Regions from separate parts of the Homo sapiens genome. Here region 2 is linked to region 1. Evidence: promoter capture Hi-C in 16 types of primary human blood cells and fetal thymus (Javierre and others, 2016). All regions are on one chromosome and are shown on one strand. The core of a region is centred on a gene start or on the middle of the fragment in contact, and the rest is flanking DNA. Distances in the headings are between cores, read along the strand shown.

What was found. The method cuts DNA at HindIII sites, captures the fragments that hold promoters and counts their contacts. A CHiCAGO score of 5 or more calls a contact.
Region 2: a contact is called between the fragment with the promoter of KLHL25 here and the fragment with the promoter of PDE8A in region 1, in 1 of 17 cell types (fetal thymus). The highest score is 8.8, in fetal thymus.

Annotation. Positions count from the first base shown.
Region 1 is chr15:84,980,606-84,985,591 of GRCh38, reverse strand. It overlaps PDE8A (phosphodiesterase 8A), which reads right to left and starts at 3,736. Exons shown (of 22, transcript NM_002605.3): 1 at 3,244-3,736. The coding sequence starts at 3,429. RefSeq lists an enhancer at 3,555-4,087 and silencers at 3,815-4,304, 4,625-4,674. The HindIII fragment of the contact is 13,609 bases long and covers 1-4,986 here.
Region 2 is chr15:85,791,314-85,796,395 of GRCh38, reverse strand. It overlaps KLHL25 (kelch like family member 25), which reads left to right and starts at 1,471. Exons shown (of 3, transcript NM_022480.4): 1 at 1,471-1,630. RefSeq lists silencers at 1,281-1,350, 1,501-1,800. The HindIII fragment of the contact is 2,328 bases long and covers 48-2,375 here.

The DNA.
Region 1 (4,986 bases), core at 2,487-4,986:
GGTGTTTGCAAAAAGGAAGATAGGGGGTGAGCATAGGGTCTCTAACACTACATGCAAATCTTTCAAGGGCAACTCAAGTCCTGGCTAGGGAAAGTGGAAATGGGGTAAATCCAAAGACTGGCAAGAAAATATTAAAATGTTACAGTTAAGGCTCACTCACACTGATTAAAAATAAACAAAACTCTAAGTGTTCAAACTGAACACAGCATTCATTATCTGTAACCACATAAACTTAAACTCCCGAAAGGAATAAACAGACAGAGGGTATTTTTAGTAATACTTAAATAAGTTCATACAGACAACCCAGCCTAATATATTGCAAGATCTAAAGTACCTTTGGAATCATTAAGAAGCAAATTACATTCGTTGAGTTTTACTGTTAATTATATTTCTTGTACTTTGAATATTGGTATCTCACATAAAGAATCAGGTCTTAACATGTGGCCTGCCTGACATACACCTCAAGAAAAGGGCTCCACAATCAACTAGTTTAGGAAATGATGCACACTCTAAAAACCACTTGGAGACTCACAGATTACTTTCAGAAATTAGGTTCTCTGACAAGCCCTACATAAAAGAACTCTGTTGAACTTAGTCTGAGCCAGTATAGGCCGCATATCTCTTATCCCAAATGCTTGAGACCAGAAGTGTTTTGGATTTTTTTTTTTTGGCTTTTGGAATATCTGCATTATATTTACCAGTTCAGCATCCCTAATCTGAAAATCCAAACTCTGAAATGCTCCATTGAGCACTTCCTTTGAGCATCATGTCAGCACTCAAAACAGACTTTGGAACATTTCTCATTTTCTGATTAGGGATATTCAACCTGTATTTCCCAAAAACTTACCAGACCACGGAACTCTTTTCTCATACAATACTAACAGTCCACATATTGTTCCATAGAACACATGCAGGATACACTTTAACGCAAAGTACATACTGCTTAACCTAAAAATGCAATTAGTTATCAATCTCCCACCCACACTGATAAACTGGTATTTACTAAATGCTGTAGGACTATAAAAGCATCCCCCAATGAATTTCTTGTTGAAATTCACTTAAAGATATGCTGACTTACAGTTTTAATAAGAAATTTTGTAATGAATTAAATTGCATCTTGAGATAATACAAAGAAACTAATTTTATGATTTAATTTTGCTAAATTGCTAGCAGTTTGCCTTCTCTAACATGAATTTCCAGAGCATAGTTAATATCTTAAAATTTAAAAAGATTCATTTTCAAAGAAAAAATATTAGACTAGAAAAAATGCTGACATTTACCTCTGCTCTACTATCTGACATGCCTAAATGCAAATAACTGTAAATGAGATATCAACATGTACAGTTCATGAATAACAAGTATGGGGCTATTATTTCTGTGGTTGTGGTGTTATAATTTATAATTTGACTCCTGCTCTGGAAATACTATTATTTTGAAGTCTACATAGGAGGCTTTATGAAATCAAATTCCAATGACTGAAAAAGTTTCATCAATCAGTTAACAATTTTTTAAGAAATCAGTAAACATTTATTTAGTACCTACTATGTGTATGCCACTGGGTTAGGCACTTTAAGGATGAAAGTATTTTCTGAGCCCCCAACACAAGACAATGGTCTGCCAATACAGAAGAATGGTTGAAGTAAGTACTTAAAAACTCAGGGACCTAACGGCACTGCGATAGCACAAGAGCAAGCTGCTGCTGCACTGGGGAGGCTTACAAGACACCTAGGTGAATTTTAGGACACCCAATCCACCACAAAAAAAGCCTGTAAGACACAAAGGCCCCTCACTATAAAAGGGCTACTTTGGTAATCTGAAATTATCACATTAGTCTGCAAAATGTTAGATTTGGACTGAAAACTTGAAAGCTGTTAAAGTTTCCATATGCACCTGTGTAACACTTTTTTAAAGCCAAGTAGGCTTAACACACAGCTTAACACTGATATTAAGAGCACCTTGAGTTAGTAAGCCTAAACCATCAGAGGTTTCTTTAAAGAATCTATAGGAGAAGGAATTCAATTTCTGATAATCAGAACAAAGTTGAATTTTCACTTAGGGTATGGGAATGGTGGGGAAATCAACTGTTATGCAACACTGAAAAAGACTTTCCCCTTTCGTACAGAAAAAGTATCATGACGACTGCTAGAAATGTAAGACAGAAAGTACATCAAACTATATCCCTCAAACTTCGGAGGTTCAGCAGTTCTCAGCAAGCAAGGAAAAATCAAACAAATTTTGCAAATTACTCTTTCAAAAACTGGTCGTGATGAGAGGGATGACAGCCAACAATCTGCAGCCATGCACGAATTTTGTTGTTGTTGTCTTTTACTGGTTTAACAAAACATAAACCAACGCATGAGTTCCAGCTTTAAATTCTGAAATGAGAGAACTGGAAAGCTGCTGCTGTGTGCCTTAATGATCACGTTTTTCTTTTTCCTTTTTAACTTTCCTTTAGAAAACCTCAACAAAGACTAAGCCCAGAAACTTTGACAAAACATAAGCCAAGGCAACATGCGCTGGAGAAGACACGCAATGTAAAAAAACAAAAAACCCCAGTCACAAAATGTCCCAGTAAGTCGGCTTAATAAAAGATTAACTTTGTTCTGCTGAATGCTTCAAAAATCGCGTTTCACAGTATTTTCTAATTACATATGCTTTAAATACAGTATGTATGCTAATAAACGTGGACCTCAAATACATGTGCAATGAAGCAAAGCTGATGTTCCAGATTACATTCTAGCAGTCCCGAAGAAAATGGTAACCTGCAACTGCATGTGCAAAGCTGACAGAGGGAAAAGAGTGGTGAGGCCAGTCGCCCTTCCCTTTCTACCACAGGAAAAGAACAAAGTTCACACTGATTTAACATTGCAGGGGCGCGCCAGAATATCCTGGGGGTTTCCCTCAAACACCCGCTCTTGGAGAGGAAATTGATGCAAGCGCCTCAGTCAACTTCACATCGGGCCCCGCCGCTCCGGGAGTCGGATGTGTCCAAAAAACCGACGCCGCGACACAGGCGGCGTCCTAATCGCAACCCTAGGAAATCAGGGTCGCGGGACCTGGGTCGGTCCTTCTCTGAACGCTGCCCCGGCAAGGCGGGAGACTGGCGTCAATCAGAACCATCCAAAGCGGGACAAGAGGGCACCGAGGCCGGGTGGGGGGGACCCCGCCCGGCCCCTGCGGGAAAGTTGCTTACTGGCCGGGCCCGAGTTTCGCGGCGGCCCCAGAGTGCCCGGCGCCCCTTACCTTCTTGCCGCTGCCGTCGCGAAGCTCCGACTCCAAGAGGCCGGCGCCGCGGGTCCGGGGCAAGGCGGCCGTCTTCTGGCCCTGCGGGAGGCGCGGCCCGCCGGACGACAGCGGCGGTGCCGCGGGGCTAGGCGCGTCCTCGGCCACCAGGCGCTCGGAAATGTGGATGCTCGGGGCACAGCCCATGCTGGCGGCGGCGCCGCGGACACGCTGGCGGGTAGCCGCGATCCGGTCAGCAAACGGCCCACCCGGCGCCTCCGGGCCGCCGCGGGCGCCGTGTCATCGCCGCCTGGGCGGGCGGCGGCGAGCGCGGATCTCGCGTCAGGAAACGCGGCCGCCCCTTTTATCGCGGTGCGGGCGCTGCGGCGGCGGCGGCTGCGGTGGGAAGGGGGCGCTTAGGCGGGTGGCGTGCCGAGGCCGCCCCTCCGAACATGCCCTTCCTGAGGCAGGAGCCGACGGCCGCCTCTCACATCGCCGGGCTCGCCTCGGCCGCGCTTCCGGGGAAATAGGGGGAGGAGATTTGCGCTCTCCTTACCCAGGAGCGGCTGAGTCCACGCCGCGCGAGCCACGCTGCCCTCGCCGAGCTGCGGCACGACCCCCGGGGGAGGCGAGCTCCCGGCCGCGCCCGGCCCCGCTCCCGCCGCCGCCGCCGCCGCCTCCCCGGCTCCAGACTCCGCCTAGATGTGGACACCCACGCCGCTCCGCCCGCTGGGCCGCCGCCTCGCGGAAAAGCCCCCCCAGGCCGAGTGCCGGTGGGGTACAAGGCTAGCCTTAGACGCTCCCGCTGGCCGGGGTTTAGGCGCGGGGTCCGAGGGAAACCCCTCGGAGCGGCCGGGCCACGTCCGCCAGGGTAGGGAGGGGAGCAGCTCGGCTCCAGCGGGGCCTGGGGCCGCACCGTCGAGAAGCGCAGAAACGGCTGCGCGCACCCAGGAGTTGCTGGCGGTACGGCTCCGGCTCCGGCTCCGTGATCCGGGCCGGGTTTTGCCGGCAGCGTGCCGCGCCGAGCCCCCAGCGGTGACCTCCAGCGGGTGCTGGCGTCAATGCAAAGCAGCTGGGGCGCCCGCCACCTCCTCCGGACGCCGCCCGCAACTGAGCATGCGCGGCGACGACAGGCGGGGCGCCCGACTGGGCTACCCAGAGAAGGAAAGAGACTTGCCCAGGGACACACAGCCACCTCCGTCCCGAGGCCACCAGAAGCCCGACCGCCAAATTCGAATTCCGGCTCCGTAACTTAGCGGCTACTTGACCTCGGTGGGGTCACCAAGTGTGAGCCCTGGAGCTGTTACCCAGAAAAGAGGCCGGTGGAAAGACCTCCTTTGGGGGTAGTGAAAGTCAAACTGGGGCGCCGCGCGCCGGGTCCCGGGTGGGTGGGGCCTGGGCGTCCGCGAGAAGCCGCAGCCCACGTGCGCTCCCTCGCAGGCCAAAACCTGGCGCGCCACGCCTCGGATTACACAGGCGCCGGGGCGGCCGCAAAGCTACAGCACCGGGCAGGCTGCAGGCGCCCGTCCTCCTCTCATTTTAACCAAAGTGCTAGTCGGGCGTCCGAGACCCCAAAGGCAGAGCCAGGGGAAGGGGCGTACGCATTGCAGGCCTGGGGCCCATGAGGACCCCGGACACGCACACAGCCACTAGCTTGCTGTGTGAACTGGGCCAGTCACTTAACTTCTTGGTGGCTGGGGCTCCTCCCCCACCAGCTGGAGGGCGGTGTCTCTGGGCGTCCATCACGTATCCTGTAGCGGGCTG
Region 2 (5,082 bases), core at 222-2,721, 810 kb before region 1:
CTACCTTTTCTCTTCAGAAGGCACCTTAACAGTGCACTTGGCAAGCTTCTTACCTCTGGCCAATATTGTTCATAAATATCAGAACCCTGGTGCCTTAGATGTCTGCAGATCTGGGCCAAATGGAAGCACAAATCTGTACTGAGCACTTACTACATGCCAGGCCTATTCCATATGTTATCTTAATCTTTCCCATACCCCTGCAAGAAAGGTTTTAGAATCCTCTTCACCAGTAAGAACCAGACACCAGAGAGTCTGAGCCATCTGCTTCAGTCCTACCCAGCTCTTGAGGGGCAGGGCGGGGCTTCAAACCCAGAACATCAAGCTGTTTCCCAAAAATGCCTTCCCTGGTGGTATCTTCTCATCATCTCCCAGTCTTTTAACCCTGGCATATCTGTCCTGTCTAAGCAGCTTTCTACCCAGGGGCTCTATTTCCCAGGTTCCACTAGTCACAATCCTATCCCCTCTCCCAAATCTTTGTACACTTTCTTAGACCTTCCTTGCACCTCCCACCTCCACCTCCGTCAGGGTGACCTCTGCTTCCTGGGAATTTCCCCGCCCCAGGCTTGGCTCTTTCGTTCTTATCACTTTCTATGCTTTACCTTTTGTATCCTTAAGCAACCTACTTGAATTATCGATTTTCATTGGGAGGGAGAAAAGAGAGGACATTTATTGCGCACTCATTTGTCTGGGAATTTGTCTCCTTTAATCCCCCAAATAATCCGATGAGGAGTTTTTATCTGCCGCTTTACGGATGAGATTGGACACACACAGTAAGCTGAAGTAGTAGTCAGGAGGGAAAAGGACGAAGAATCACAAACCGTTCTCCCCCTCCAAGATGAGTGCATGGTGTGGGCGTCCAGGAAACGTTCCTGGAAGAAATTATTGGATGGATGGATGAATGAATGAATGAACGAACATTTAAAGGCTGGCTTACGAAAGGAGTTTAGTGAGAAATGACACAGAGAGGAGAGCTGAAATACTCCAAAAAATACAGATTTCAAGTACAGGTGGGGTTTGGAGGCTGCAGAAAGTCCCAAACATTCAAACAAGCCCAGAGTGAAAGACAGGGTTTCATTAACACTCGGGCAACTACTAGTGTGGCTCTGAAGAGTCTAAAGAGATCTACAACACTTGTGACCCGAACACAAAAGAGGCATATGCAATCTACAGTGCTCCCTCTGGAAAGCTCTAGAACACCGTCGCGTTTTGTTCCCAAACTTGGGCGGCGGGGTTGGGCAGGCGCCTGTCTCTTTAAGAATCTGGTCGAAGTCCTTTTCCTCGCCCCGCCCCGCCCCCGGTCCCCCCCCCTCCCCGCCCCCGGCCCCCCACCCCCCGGTGCCGGCGCGGCCTGGGGCCCACCCCCTTCTTTTCTGCGGCTGCACTGAAGGGTTCGGCTGCCCATCCGTCACAGAGGCGATGCCTCTGATTGGCTGCTGCTCTTCGGGCCGGGAGGCGGGGCGGGAAGGCCGGAGAAACTAGTTTGTTGGCGGCGCCTAGGCTGTATCGCAGCGAGAGCGTTTTTGCCTGTGGAGAGCCGGCCGACGGGAGCCGCGGCGGAGCCTGTTGAGCTCGCGCGGGCTGCCGGGAGTGGTCTCTGAGGCGGCGGCGGCGGCGGGGATCGTCTCCGGCAGTGAGTATCCAGGCCGGGCGGGGACGCCGTGCTCTGGCCGCAGCACCCGCGCCCCCGCTCCCTGCGCTGGGGACTCACCACCCCGGGCCGGGCCGGGACCAAGCGCTCGGAGCCCCCGCGGGACTACGTGTCCCGGGAGGGGGCCCCGCGGCTGGGGCCGGGGCCCTGGGACAATGGTGGGGAGCGGCGGCCGGCCGGCACCCCGCGGCTCCGCGAGGGAATTCGCCGAGAGCTCTGCGCGAGGGAATGAATTGTTTGGCAAATGGATGTTGCGCGCGGGAGCCGCTACTCTTTCCCCAGGGAGTGGTTGATTCATTGAGTCCGCAGACTCTTTTTTTTAAAAAATTACTATTGATCCTGGAAAGAGAGACTGCTTGTCTTTGAGGACGCGAGCGGCGATGCCCCGCGCCTTGGACGCCCAGGCCGGATGGCTGCCTGCCTGGCGCAGAGCGAGGGCCCGGGGTTCACAAGGGGAGGGTTTGCGCGGGCCTGGCCGCGGAGCCCCGAGCCGTTCACGTTCCGCCTGCCAGGGTCCCTCGTTTCGGTTTGCAGAACTGTCCAGCGGCAGAGAAAGGTCGCACTCAAAGGCACACCCACCTGTCCACCTGGGTGGCGGCCAGACTGGCAGGTCCAGAGCAAGCCCTCTAGCCTGACTCTAATTACCACACTTGCCCTGGCTCCGAGACACACCGCGCGATGTTACGCCCCCACTCCCCCTGTCTCTTTCGTAGTTGCTTTAGAAGCTTTTCTCTTGGGGGATTGTGCCCGGGAGATACCAGATACTTTTTTTGTGTTGCTGCTCTAAGCCCCCAAAGTGCATTCCCATTGTCTTTGAACAAAGAAACATCTCTCTAGAGGCCTGACCCAACGAACTGTGGGTGAGGGGGCGGACCCAGGCCCCTGCAGATTTAATCTGGACGCTCTTGGGTCCTGCTGGATCCCGGTGAATTTGACCTTGGGGAAGGCGGGCTGGACTTTGACTCTCCTCGGTAGTCAGGGCAGAGAATGCCAGGTGTCTGGACCATTTGGTTCCACTCTATCGGCCCAATAGAGAGAGGAAGGGAAGGAAGTTAGCAGTAGCACCAGGAGAGGAGGCAGGATTCCACGGTCTGTATCCTGGACCAGATTCCAGTGACCGTTATGGGGCCAAGCCCTCTGGGACCCTGGGTCCCAGTCTCCCCATTCATAGGAGGAACTGATGCTCAGTGTGCTGATCTGAGCTGTGAGGATTCCTGGCATGTTGGTGAAGGCTTGCGTGGGGGTCTGGGGAAGAGTAGGACACAAAGTCTACCCCACCTCAGGGTCCATTTGGTGTCCCAAGACCGGAGGCTCTTGGGTCCACAAGCTGTGCCTGTGAAGGTTGACGTAGTCAGTCTTTTTCCGGCCTGGCAGCTATTTCAGTTTTGAGTCATTTGTCAGGCAGTGACTCCAGGGTGGTTGATAAAAGGGAGGTAGAAATGGAAGACACCTTCATCCTGGGGTCTTGGGCTGCAGTTGGATTTATGTATGTGGTGCGGAGAGAAGAGCTATAGGCAAATTGCATGCTCCACATCGGAAGCAGGTTCTGCAGCCCGATGCCCCTTAATAGCGTTTTAAATCTGCGGGCACCCCGTGTGGGCAGAAGAGAGCAGGAAGAAAAGAGAACAATTACCCAGTGAAAGCAAGCTTGGTTCGTCCCGTCTATCACTTGGGCGGGGGCGGGGGGAAGGGTAGGATGAGTGAGAGTGTTATTTAGTGGGTGGTTTGTGACTGATTGATTGATTGATTCATTGTTTGAACAGACTTGATTGGGCACCTGCTGTGTGCCAGGCCCTGAGTTAGGTGCTGGAGACTCTTCCTTTAGTGAGCACCTAGATGAGGGAGTGCTGGCACATGGATTAGGGGCCCTGACACATCGTAGTGATAGAGGCAGCAAGAGGAGAGAAGGAGACACAGGTGGGCAAGGCTTCCTGGGGAGAGGATGCCTTGACTAAGATGAGAAAGGCATGTCATCGCCCAGATTCGAGGTGTAGGGCAGCCACCTTTGTCCTGTCGCTCACCCACACTTCTCCCAGAGGCCCAATTCATTGCCAGCCTCAAGATAGGCACAGGTTGAGGCCATGGAGAATGCAAGTGGGAGGTGGTAGAAGGTTTGCTCTCGTCCGTAGTGTCTGGCCGCACAGTCAGCAGTCCAGCGCATTTGTAGGAAGCTGGATGGCTTCTGGATGCAGCCTCTCTTCTCTGGGGGTCCTGGGAGAACCTACCCCCTGGTCCCAAAGACCAGCCCATTGTCTGAGCCCCTAGTCCCTCTGTACCACCAGGCAGTGTAGGCATAGCCTGGCCAGTGTGGGCAGAGCTGGCACAAGAAAACAGAGTGGCCAGACACAAATGAATTGGTTGATTGAGATGCTGGTTTTCATCTAATGTGGTAAATTTCATAATTTAATTGCCTCAGCCAGCCAAGGCTGTTGAAGCATTTTCCTCACCAGGAAACACTTAGTTGGAACAAGCTGGGGGTAGAGGAGGGAGGTGCAGGGGAGGAGGGAGGAGGGAGAACTTAAGCATCCACAGCTTTCAGTCACAGCATCCCAACAGGACTTATCAATCAGCAGCTATCCCCAGCTGATGGAAGTCAGCCCAGCCCCTACAGTAGGTTCCAACCCCTTTCCTTGACCACCTCATTGCCATACCAACCTAAAGCTGTCAAAAGCTGACACCTGTCATCTTCAAGGCATAATCATCCCATACTGCCTCCAGGTCCTTCTGGGGCTGTTAGAAACTGGGGAAGGGGTGCTGTGGGATTAGGTGGGGAAGCGAAGGGGTTTGGGGATAGGAAGGGCTCCCTGTTAAGTCCTTTTAACCCAGGAGCAGTGGAAAGAGCATGGGCTTTGGCACCAGACTGGGGTTCAAATGCTGTGGGTCTGTGATCAAGTTCCTTAACCTCATTGAGCTTTGTTAGCTTTTTTCAGGGGTATGGTGAAGGTTAACCACCATACTATGCAGAATCCCCTAGAATGGGGTCTGGCACCAAGTGGGTGTCAGTCATGCCGGGCTCCCCTTTCCCTTTTTTGTTTTTGTTCCCTGGGTGCAGAATTGAGGTTGGGTGCTTGTTGCTCTGCAGCTGACTTGCAGCCCTCCCCTGAGTCCCCAGTCACCTCACCCCCGCCCCCTACCTCTCTTGCCACTCTTTCTTACTGCTAAACCTTTCCTGCTTTCCTTCCAAGCCCTGTCCCAGCACCCTGTTGGATGATAAACGATAGATGTGTGTGGCTTATTAACCTTTTTTTCTTTTGAGAAGGAGTCTCGCTCTGTCGCCCAGGCTGGAGTGCAATGGCGCCATCTTGGTTCACTGCAACTTCTGCCTCCTGGATTCAAGTGATTCTCCCGCCTCAGCCTCCTGAGTAGCTGGGATTACAGGCACACACCACCATGCCTGGCTAATTTTTGTATTTTTGTAGAGACGGGGTTTCTCC